Linked DNA regions of Homo sapiens: all the other regions are linked to region 2. Evidence: promoter capture Hi-C in 16 types of primary human blood cells and fetal thymus (Javierre and others, 2016). All regions are on one chromosome and are shown on one strand. Each heading gives the region's core, a stretch centred on a gene start or on the middle of the fragment in contact. The rest is flanking DNA. Distances are from core to core; before and after follow the strand shown.

What was found. The method cuts DNA at HindIII sites, captures the fragments that hold promoters and counts their contacts. A CHiCAGO score of 5 or more calls a contact.
Region 1: a fragment that was not itself captured here is called in contact with the fragment with the promoter of NUP155 in region 2 in 1 of 17 cell types (total B cells); the score reaches 6.2 in total B cells.
Region 3: a fragment that was not itself captured here is called in contact with the fragment with the promoter of NUP155 in region 2 in 1 of 17 cell types (erythroblasts); the score reaches 5.1 in erythroblasts.

The regions. Positions count from the first base shown.
Region 1 is chr5:36,700,367-36,702,866 of GRCh38, forward strand. All of the region lies in intron 1 of SLC1A3-AS1 (SLC1A3 antisense RNA 1), which reads right to left. Among named protein-coding and RNA genes, the nearest start is that of SLC1A3-AS1, 24 kb to the right of the region's middle. The HindIII fragment of the contact is 1,017 bases long and covers 743-1,759 here.
Region 2 is chr5:37,369,774-37,372,781 of GRCh38, forward strand. It overlaps NUP155 (nucleoporin 155), which reads right to left and starts at 1,333. Exons shown (of 35, transcript NM_153485.3): 1 at 1,048-1,333. The coding sequence starts at 1,204. RefSeq lists enhancers at 1,006-1,115, 1,236-1,325. The HindIII fragment of the contact is 10,669 bases long and covers 1-2,343 here.
Region 3 is chr5:38,185,467-38,188,300 of GRCh38, forward strand. No RefSeq gene overlaps it. Among named protein-coding and RNA genes, the nearest start is that of LINC02119, 38 kb to the left of the region's middle. The HindIII fragment of the contact is 2,050 bases long and covers 322-2,371 here.

The DNA of each region.
Region 1 (2,500 bases), core at 1-2,500, 670 kb before region 2:
GGGAGTGAAGTGGCACAAAAGGAATAAGCTGGGGAGAAGAGGTTGCAGCAGACTTCTGTGAGCAACCAGGAAGCAATTCAAGTCAAGAAATAATTGCTAGCCCAGGCATGGTGGTTCATGCCTGTAATCCCAGCATTTTGGGAGCCGAGGCAGGCCGATCACTGGAGCCCAGGAGTTTGAATAGCCTGGCCAACATGATGAAACCCTGTCTCTACCAAAAAATACAAAAAATTAGCCAGGCATGGTAGCACGTGCCTGTAGTCCCAGCAGCTACTCAAGAGACTGAGTGGTGAGGATCACTTGAACCCAAGAGGTGGAGGCTGCAGTGAGCCAAGATTGTGCCAAGGCACACCAGCCTGGGCAATACAGTGAGATCCCATATAAAAAAAAAAAAAAAGAAAGAATTGCTAATTGCCAATGCATAACCACAGAACCTGAGGGAAACATAGAAGAATAAAAGAGATGTAGTCCCTGCCCTCAGGAAATTCAGAGTAGGACAAAAGAAACAGAAATACCCATTACAAAACCACTTTAATACAAGTTCCAGTGACAAAAAGGACATCTCAGGAGACAGTGATCGAGGAGCTCATGGAGTTATAAACAGGAATTAAAGATGAGATCATTAAATGGCTGAAGGATGGGTGAAAAAGGGGACCAACGGGTAGGAGAGGAGGAGAGGACTCCACAAGGGAGATGACAGGGATTGGAGGGAAATGCAGGGGTGTAAGTGCTGGCAAACACAAGCTTGATGTGGAGCCAGGCAGGCAGAGGGTGTAGACTCCCCAGGATCACCAAGGACGGCTTTTTATTCATCTCTCACCACTACATTTGAAAGACATTTATTCTTATTACCGAAATGATGGAATAGGCATGTGCTTTGGACTCAGAAAATCTTGGGTTTGCACCCTAGCTCTACTACTATGTACCAGCTATGTGACCTTAGACAACTTACCTACCCTCTCTGAGCCTACCTTTTCTTCCTCATCTACAGAACTGGGAAATGATAGCTATTTCTAAATACTGTCACGAGGATTAAATGATGTGTGTAAAAGTGCTTAACAGAATGCCTAGCACATAGTAGATACTCAACAGGGTTAGTTTCCCTTCCCTTTTCTGAAGGCACTGGCTACATCTGCAGACTTTGGGGGCAGAATGCTTGGTTAAACTCCACTCTGCCTCTCATGCCGGCTGTGTGATAAGTGGGCATGTTGCATTCCAACAGAGGCATTCCCAAGTGACAGGTGAGTGTGGACATGTTACAGCTTAAGCCTGAGCACACCACTGTTTGCAGCAGGAATAGGAACTATTGGCAAAATCACTTGGTAGGATTCCATTCACACTTCTTATGTTAAGGAGAAATGTTTGCCAGTTAATCTCACAGTAACAATTTGAGAACGATGAGAAGAAATCTTGAAGCAACCACTCAGAACAATTGGGGAGGGAGAGGGGGCATTCAATAGGGTTTTATTTACACTTGTATGGTCAGATCTGCTGCAATCTGCGCCCGTGGTGACACCTCACAGCACTCCCTATTGGTTTACACTTTTAGAACTTAATCACATACATTTGGGCTTACAGTGTTATCTCTTCTATAACAGATCATCTGCTTCCTTTTCATTTATCTTATCTCCCAAGCCAATATCCAATTTTCTTGAAGGCAAAAGCTGAGTATATGCTCTTTCTATCCCAGGTCATACCTAGCACATTCCTGAACTTGCTGTAGAAAGGAGAAAAAGAGAAAGGAAGGAAAGAAAGGAGAAGCTTGTATTCGTGTTTGAAATCTGAAATAAATAGATATTTGATAATGAAATGGCCACACTGAGTAATACTCACACGGCCCATTACAGTCTAACATTTGGTGTCAAGTGCTGTGTTGTGGCACAGTCTGGGCCATCTTCATGTCAATCTCAAATAATCAAGACTGTATCTTGGAAACATGCTAGAAAAACCCTTTAAGGTTCTGCAGCCATTACTTGTTCTAAATTATTTTAAAGAGATACAATAAATCTTTTTGCTCATATTTTATATGTTTTTTAAAATAGTATATGAATTCATTTTCTTGCAAAAGATTTGAAAAATAGGGAAATATAAAAGTAAACCATAGAAGTTGCCTTCACACTTTCATCTCACTCCCACCCCCCTGACAAGCCCTGTTAACTATTTATTGTGTTTCCCTGAAGTAATCTAACTCACTAGGTTCAAGTTAGATCCATGCATTTGTTTCCTGTGGGTGCTGTAACAAATCATCATAAATTCAATGGCTTAAAGCAACAGAAAAGTATTCCCTCACAGTTCTAGAGGGCAGAAGTCCAAAATCAGTATCACTGGGCCAAAATCAAGGTGTTAGCAGGGCCATTCTCCCTCCAGAGGCTCCAAAGGAGAATCCATTCATTGCCCCTTCGGCCACTGGCAGCTGCCAACAATCCTTGGTTTGTGGCCACATCACTCCCCTCTCTGCCTCCATGGTCACATTGCCTTCCCCTCTCCTGCATGTGTCAGA
Region 2 (3,008 bases), core at 83-2,582:
TTACTTTGGTTCTTGCTCACCAACAATCTTTTCTTTCTTACACTTCGCTGGTTTTCTCCAAATTCCATCTCACAAAGGGGTCACTTTTTCTAGCAACTGATGTAATTCCATAAGCCGTGGGGAGCTGGTTATAACTTAAAACTGTTAAACAAATTACTTTCCAGTCACCTATATTGTCAACACATATTCTGCCTTACTCTCCCTGTACATAAGCACTGTGATTTCCCTGTTCTCTTTCTTTATTCCACTGGTAGTTCTTTTAAGATCCTCCAGCATTTCATAACACACATCTCTACACATAATAAAGCGTTTCTTGGCCGGGTGCAGTGGCTTGCGCCTGTAATCCCAGCACTTTGGGAGGCCGAGGCGGGCGGATCACTTGAGGTCAGAGTTCGTGACCAGCCAGGCCAATATGGTGAAACCCCGTCTCTACTTAAAAAACACAAAAATTAGCCGGGCTTGGTGGCAGGCGCCTGTAATCTCAGCTACTTGGGAGTCTGAGGCAGAAGAATCGCTTGAACCCAGGAGGCGGAGGTTGCAATGAGCCGAGATCGCGCCATTGCACTTCAGCCTGGGCGAAGAGGGAACCGCTCCGTCTCAATAAATAAACAAATAAATATAAAGCAAAGCGTATCTTTAAGATAACATGCTAAATTTCCAAATTAACTTCGTTTGCTCTTACGATCTACTCAAACACTAACAGGAGAAATGAACAAATTTGGGACTTGGATCTGGAGATGCTTCTCATATGGCCTTAGCCATAAGCACTTGAGAGCGGCGAGAAGCTCATTAAGGTTGAGGTCTTTGCCTCTTTCTGCTTCAACTGGGAGCTTGCTCTTCACTCTTGCCCTCTCAAGTATCTACAATGAAGAAAGTGAGGAAAGGAAAAAACCTGAAAAGAAGCTGCTTGCTGTTCTCCAAAAATGCAGCCAACAGTGCCATAAATCTCAGCATATCCTCGCCGGGACCAACGCTGGGGATAAGTAGCAAATTAGGAAGTCAGGCGAGAGTCCTTTAGGTTGAGAAAGCAGGGTCACTATCACTCACTTGGGGCAGACACCATAAGCAGCTCGGAAAGGTCCGGGTACATGCGGTCCTCTTGCAACTGACGGTCGATGAGCCGTCCAGCATTTTCCAGAGCTTCCTGCAGGGCTGCGGCAGATGTAGAGGCCGGCATCGCCGCGCCCAACAAAGAAGACGGCATCTCGGAAATCGTAGACACCAGGGTCCAGAAAAAGTCAAAAACCAAGGAGAAACAAGAAAAGATCCAAGAAGTTAGCTTAGATCCGCCGCCTAGGGCGCGCGCGCCAAACGAGCGCCTTGGCGCCTCGACATGACGCACTTCCGCTTCATCCGGTGGGGAACTGGAAGACGCCGTTCTGGCCTGGGAAGAGGAAGCTGTTGGGAGGGGGCTAGAGGTTGTGGGTGGAGCTAGGAGGCTGCTGATGCTTTCGAGGGGGTTGAGGGTTTTGGGGTGTGGCAGGGTAAAATTAGGGTAGGTTATTTAGGGAAGGGAGGGAGGGAAAGGAAGGGAAGGATAAAGGGGAGGGAACAGGGAAGGAGAGGGGCGGGATGGGGTTGGATAGGGTGAGGAGGAAGGAGGGAGGAGGGATACGGTAGGTGGGAGCTAGGTCGTGTGTCTGGCCTAGGAGGTTGGTCAGGTTCCGTTGGTTTAAGCGCGTGCTCGACCTGAGTCTTGGAACTTCCCGCGTCGGTATCCGCTAACTGCAGCTATATGAGTTCGCGCATGAGCGCGCAGTTTGGTTCTCCAAGTAACTGCTTTTGTGAGAGTAGTTAAGAATTGGTAGGTCGCTGTCACAGAGAGGGATATAAACCAGTATCTCACTATATTCTTCGCGGGCTTCAGTGTAAATTAGAATTCATCAGGCTTTTCCATTTGCGTGTCGCTGTCTTTTGACTTTGTTGCCCCTTAGTATAAAATACGTGTTTAAGAAGAAGCTGAGTGCAGGTGGACCGCTGCCGTGCTTTTTATCGTGGCAGAGATAGCAGACAGTTCTAATTCATCTTTCCATTCCCAGCGCTAGTATAGGAACTCGTATGAGATAGGAACCCAAGAGTTCATACAATCCTAAGAAACTGAATACTTGCCTTGTGCCTGGTGCTGGGACTATCAAACTAACACAGTGTTTCCTGTCCTTAAGGTGCTTCAAGCAGAGACAAAGGGCTTCATTATAATTTTTCTATTTGGATAGGTATAAACTATAGCAGGATAGGAGAAAGCAGAGAGGTAAAAGAGGCTTCATTTACTACAGAAGGCAACCTGAGTGGGTAAATCAAAGCACTTTTTAGAAAGCTGCTCTTATTTAGAATCTCACCTAAGAAAGCTTCCAGTTATGTTCTTCAGAATTTCACAAATCAATAACTGAATTACTCTAAATTGGTCTTTTGCTATTTGAATTACATTTTTACTCCCTCAAAGACTTGACTACATTTCTGAAAATTGAAAGTTCTTTGATGTTACCAATCTACACTTAAAATTTGACATAGCCAATATACCAAGAAAAACTGGATTTTTTATCATTGGTATATAGATAGGCAGTTGGGTCTCTAGCTGTGAGTTTACTTTATTTGGTAGACCATAGATTGAAAAGTGGTGGTCTGGCACCGAGTTTGTTTTTAATTTGAGACAAAATACACAAAGTTTTCAACTCCATAAATTGGAAGATTCAACAACGTTGCTGTGATATTCCTGCATAGAAGTAAAGCTCCCCAAAGTGTAATCTAACTAACTTAATTCATTGGCATATTGCCTATGCTTTCCCACTACAACTGCTAAACCGAGTAATTTCTACAAAAGACTGCAAAGCCTTAAATACGGACTCTGGCACTTTACAGGAAAAGTTTGCTGACCTCTTCCCTAGAACAGATAATTATGAATTTTTTTGGTCTTAGGACCCCCTTGATACCCTTAAAAATTATTCAGGATTCCAGAGAGTTTTTGTTTCATGTTGGTTACATCTATTAATATTTGTGAATAACTCAAACTG
Region 3 (2,834 bases), core at 97-2,596, 820 kb after region 2:
TAGTCAAGGTGCAAATGCACATTTGCTATCCTCCTGGTAGTTTTCTATTAGAGCAAATCCCACACAAGCGCTCAGGGAGATATATACATGGATATTTGGAGAAAGATTGTTAAAACAAAACAATGAAAACAACCTGATGTTCATCAACAATGCATACCGAAACTGCGGCACCTTCATATAATTAAGTGTTACAACGGGGGTGGGGGTAAAGCGAGGGGAAATGAACAACTGCTACGTGCATCAACAAGGATGAAGCTCACAAAATGTTAGAAAAAAATCTACTTGTAGACTAATAAATACAATATTTTATTTCTAATATGAAGCTTAAAAGTAAACAAAATATATATTTCTCTTACACATGCACACATATATATAATAAAAAGCATAAATATATGTATGAGAATAAAAAATACAAAATTCAGAACAGTGAGTTCTTCTGGAACAGAGAGCACACTTGGGGAAGGATACACAGAAAGTTATCTACTGCACTGATGACTTCTATTTCTTAAGCTAGGTGGGCATTGATTGTATTCTTCTTTATATCATTTTGTATGTCTTAAATATTTTATAATACATTTTAAAATGTTATTTTGAGGCGTCAAAGAATTTCAGAGCTACAAAGACCTTAGAAATCATCTAGTTCAACAACCTCGTTTTAAACACAATGACAAATAACTAAAATCGGGAAAGAGGAGGTACAACTGATGCCACAGAAACACAAAGGATTATAAAGGCTATTATTAACACTTATATACCAGCAAATTATATAACCTAGAAACAACAGATAAATTCTTAGAAACAGGTTATATAAGGTTAAATTCTTATAACCTACCCAGACTCAATCATGACGAAGTAGAAAATCTGAACAGACCTATAATTAGTAAGGAGATTGAGTCAGTAATCAAAAATCTCCCAACAAAGAAAAGCCCAAAACAAGATGGCTTCATGGGAGAATTCTACCAAACATTCAAAGAAGAATTAACACCAATCCTTGTCAAACTCGTCCAAAATATTGAAGAAGAGGGAACACTTCCAAACTGATGTTATGAGGCCAGCATTACCCTAATACCAAAGCCAGACAAGGATACTACCAGAAAAAAAACTACAGGCCAGTATCTCTGATGGGTATTGATGTAAAAACTCACAAGAAAATACTAGAGAATGGCATACAATAGCACATTTAAAGAATTATACATTTATAATCACGTGGGATTTATCTGTGGGATGCAAGGATAGTTCAACATAAAAAATTCATAAATATAATACACCACATCAAAAGAACAGAGGACAAAAATGGCATGATTATCTCAGTTAATCCAGAAAAAACATTTCACAAAATTTAACAACTTTCATGATAAAAACATTCAACACACTAGTAATAGAAGAAAACTACTTCAACATAATAAAGTCATATATGAAAACCCCACAGCTAACATCATACTCAATGATGGATACATAGAGAACTCCTACAACTCAGTAACAAAAACCAAATAACTCAATTAAAAAAATGATCAAAGGACTTCAGCAGACATTTATCTAAAGAAAATAAACAAATGACCAACAGCATATTCACAGATGCTCAACATCACTAATCATTAGGAAAATGCAAAGCAAAACCAGAGTGAGATATTACCTCACCCCCATTAGGATGGCCACCATAAAAAAAAACAGGAAAACAAATGTTGATGAGGATGTAGAGTAATTGGAACCCTTGTTCCAATTGTAACAGGAGAAGAAACAGGCTTCAGCAGTGCAATCCTGAAGACAAAACACTGTTGGTGGGATTGTAAAATGGTGCAGCATGATGGAAAACAGTATAGAGATTACTTGAAAAATTAAAAATAGAATTGCCATATGATTCAGCAATCCCACTTCTGAGAATTTTTACAAAAGAACTGAAAACAGGATCTCGAAGAGACATTTGCACACCCATATTCATTGTAGCATTCTTCATAATTGCCAAGATGTGGAAGCAACCTAAAAGCCATCGGTAGAATGAATAGATAAAGAAAATGTGGCATATACACAAAATGGAATATCATTCAGCTTTTAAAAAGAAGGAAGTCCTAGTACATGCTACAACAAGGTTCATACCTTAAAGACATTAGGTTAAATGAAATAAGCCAATCACAAAAAAAGACAAATATTGCCTGATTCCACTTCTGTAAAGTGTCTAAAGTAATCAAACTCATAGAAACAGAAAGTCAAATGGTGGTTGCCAGAGGCTGGGGACACAGGGAACCAGGAGCTATTCAATGGGTATAGGGTTTCAGTCATGCCGAATGAACTTTCTAGAGCTCTGTTTGTTATACAACAATGTGCATGGCATATAGTTAACAATACTGTACACTAGAAAATGGTTAAGAGGGTAAGCTTATGTGTTTTCTGGCTGCAATTTAGACAAAAAACACGATGAAAGCAAGGGCCAGAGTGACGGGATGACATGCCCACCATCAGGAAGTTGGCCAAATCCAGATCATTGGCATTTTTCCTGCCTCTTGTCACCTCCTCTTGTCCTGATTTCTGTTTTATTTGTAACAGCATTTCAGAAATGTGAGATGGGCTTTAGAGATGATTGCTCTAGAAGAGAATCAATTCTTTGTTGAACCGTGATGTCTCCACTTTAAATGTTTACCTGTATCTTTGTGGTTTGCTCCTTACACTTCAACTGGCTTTTAAATTGAGTTTGTGGTTGTATTGTAAATAATTATACATTAATATTGCACTCGGCTTTTGCTGCCTTTCAAGCACAGAGCTCAAGGTCCTTCTGAGGCAGTTAAAATTCAGGATTTGCTTACCAGATGAAATGGAAGCTACATTATGGGGAGAAAAAT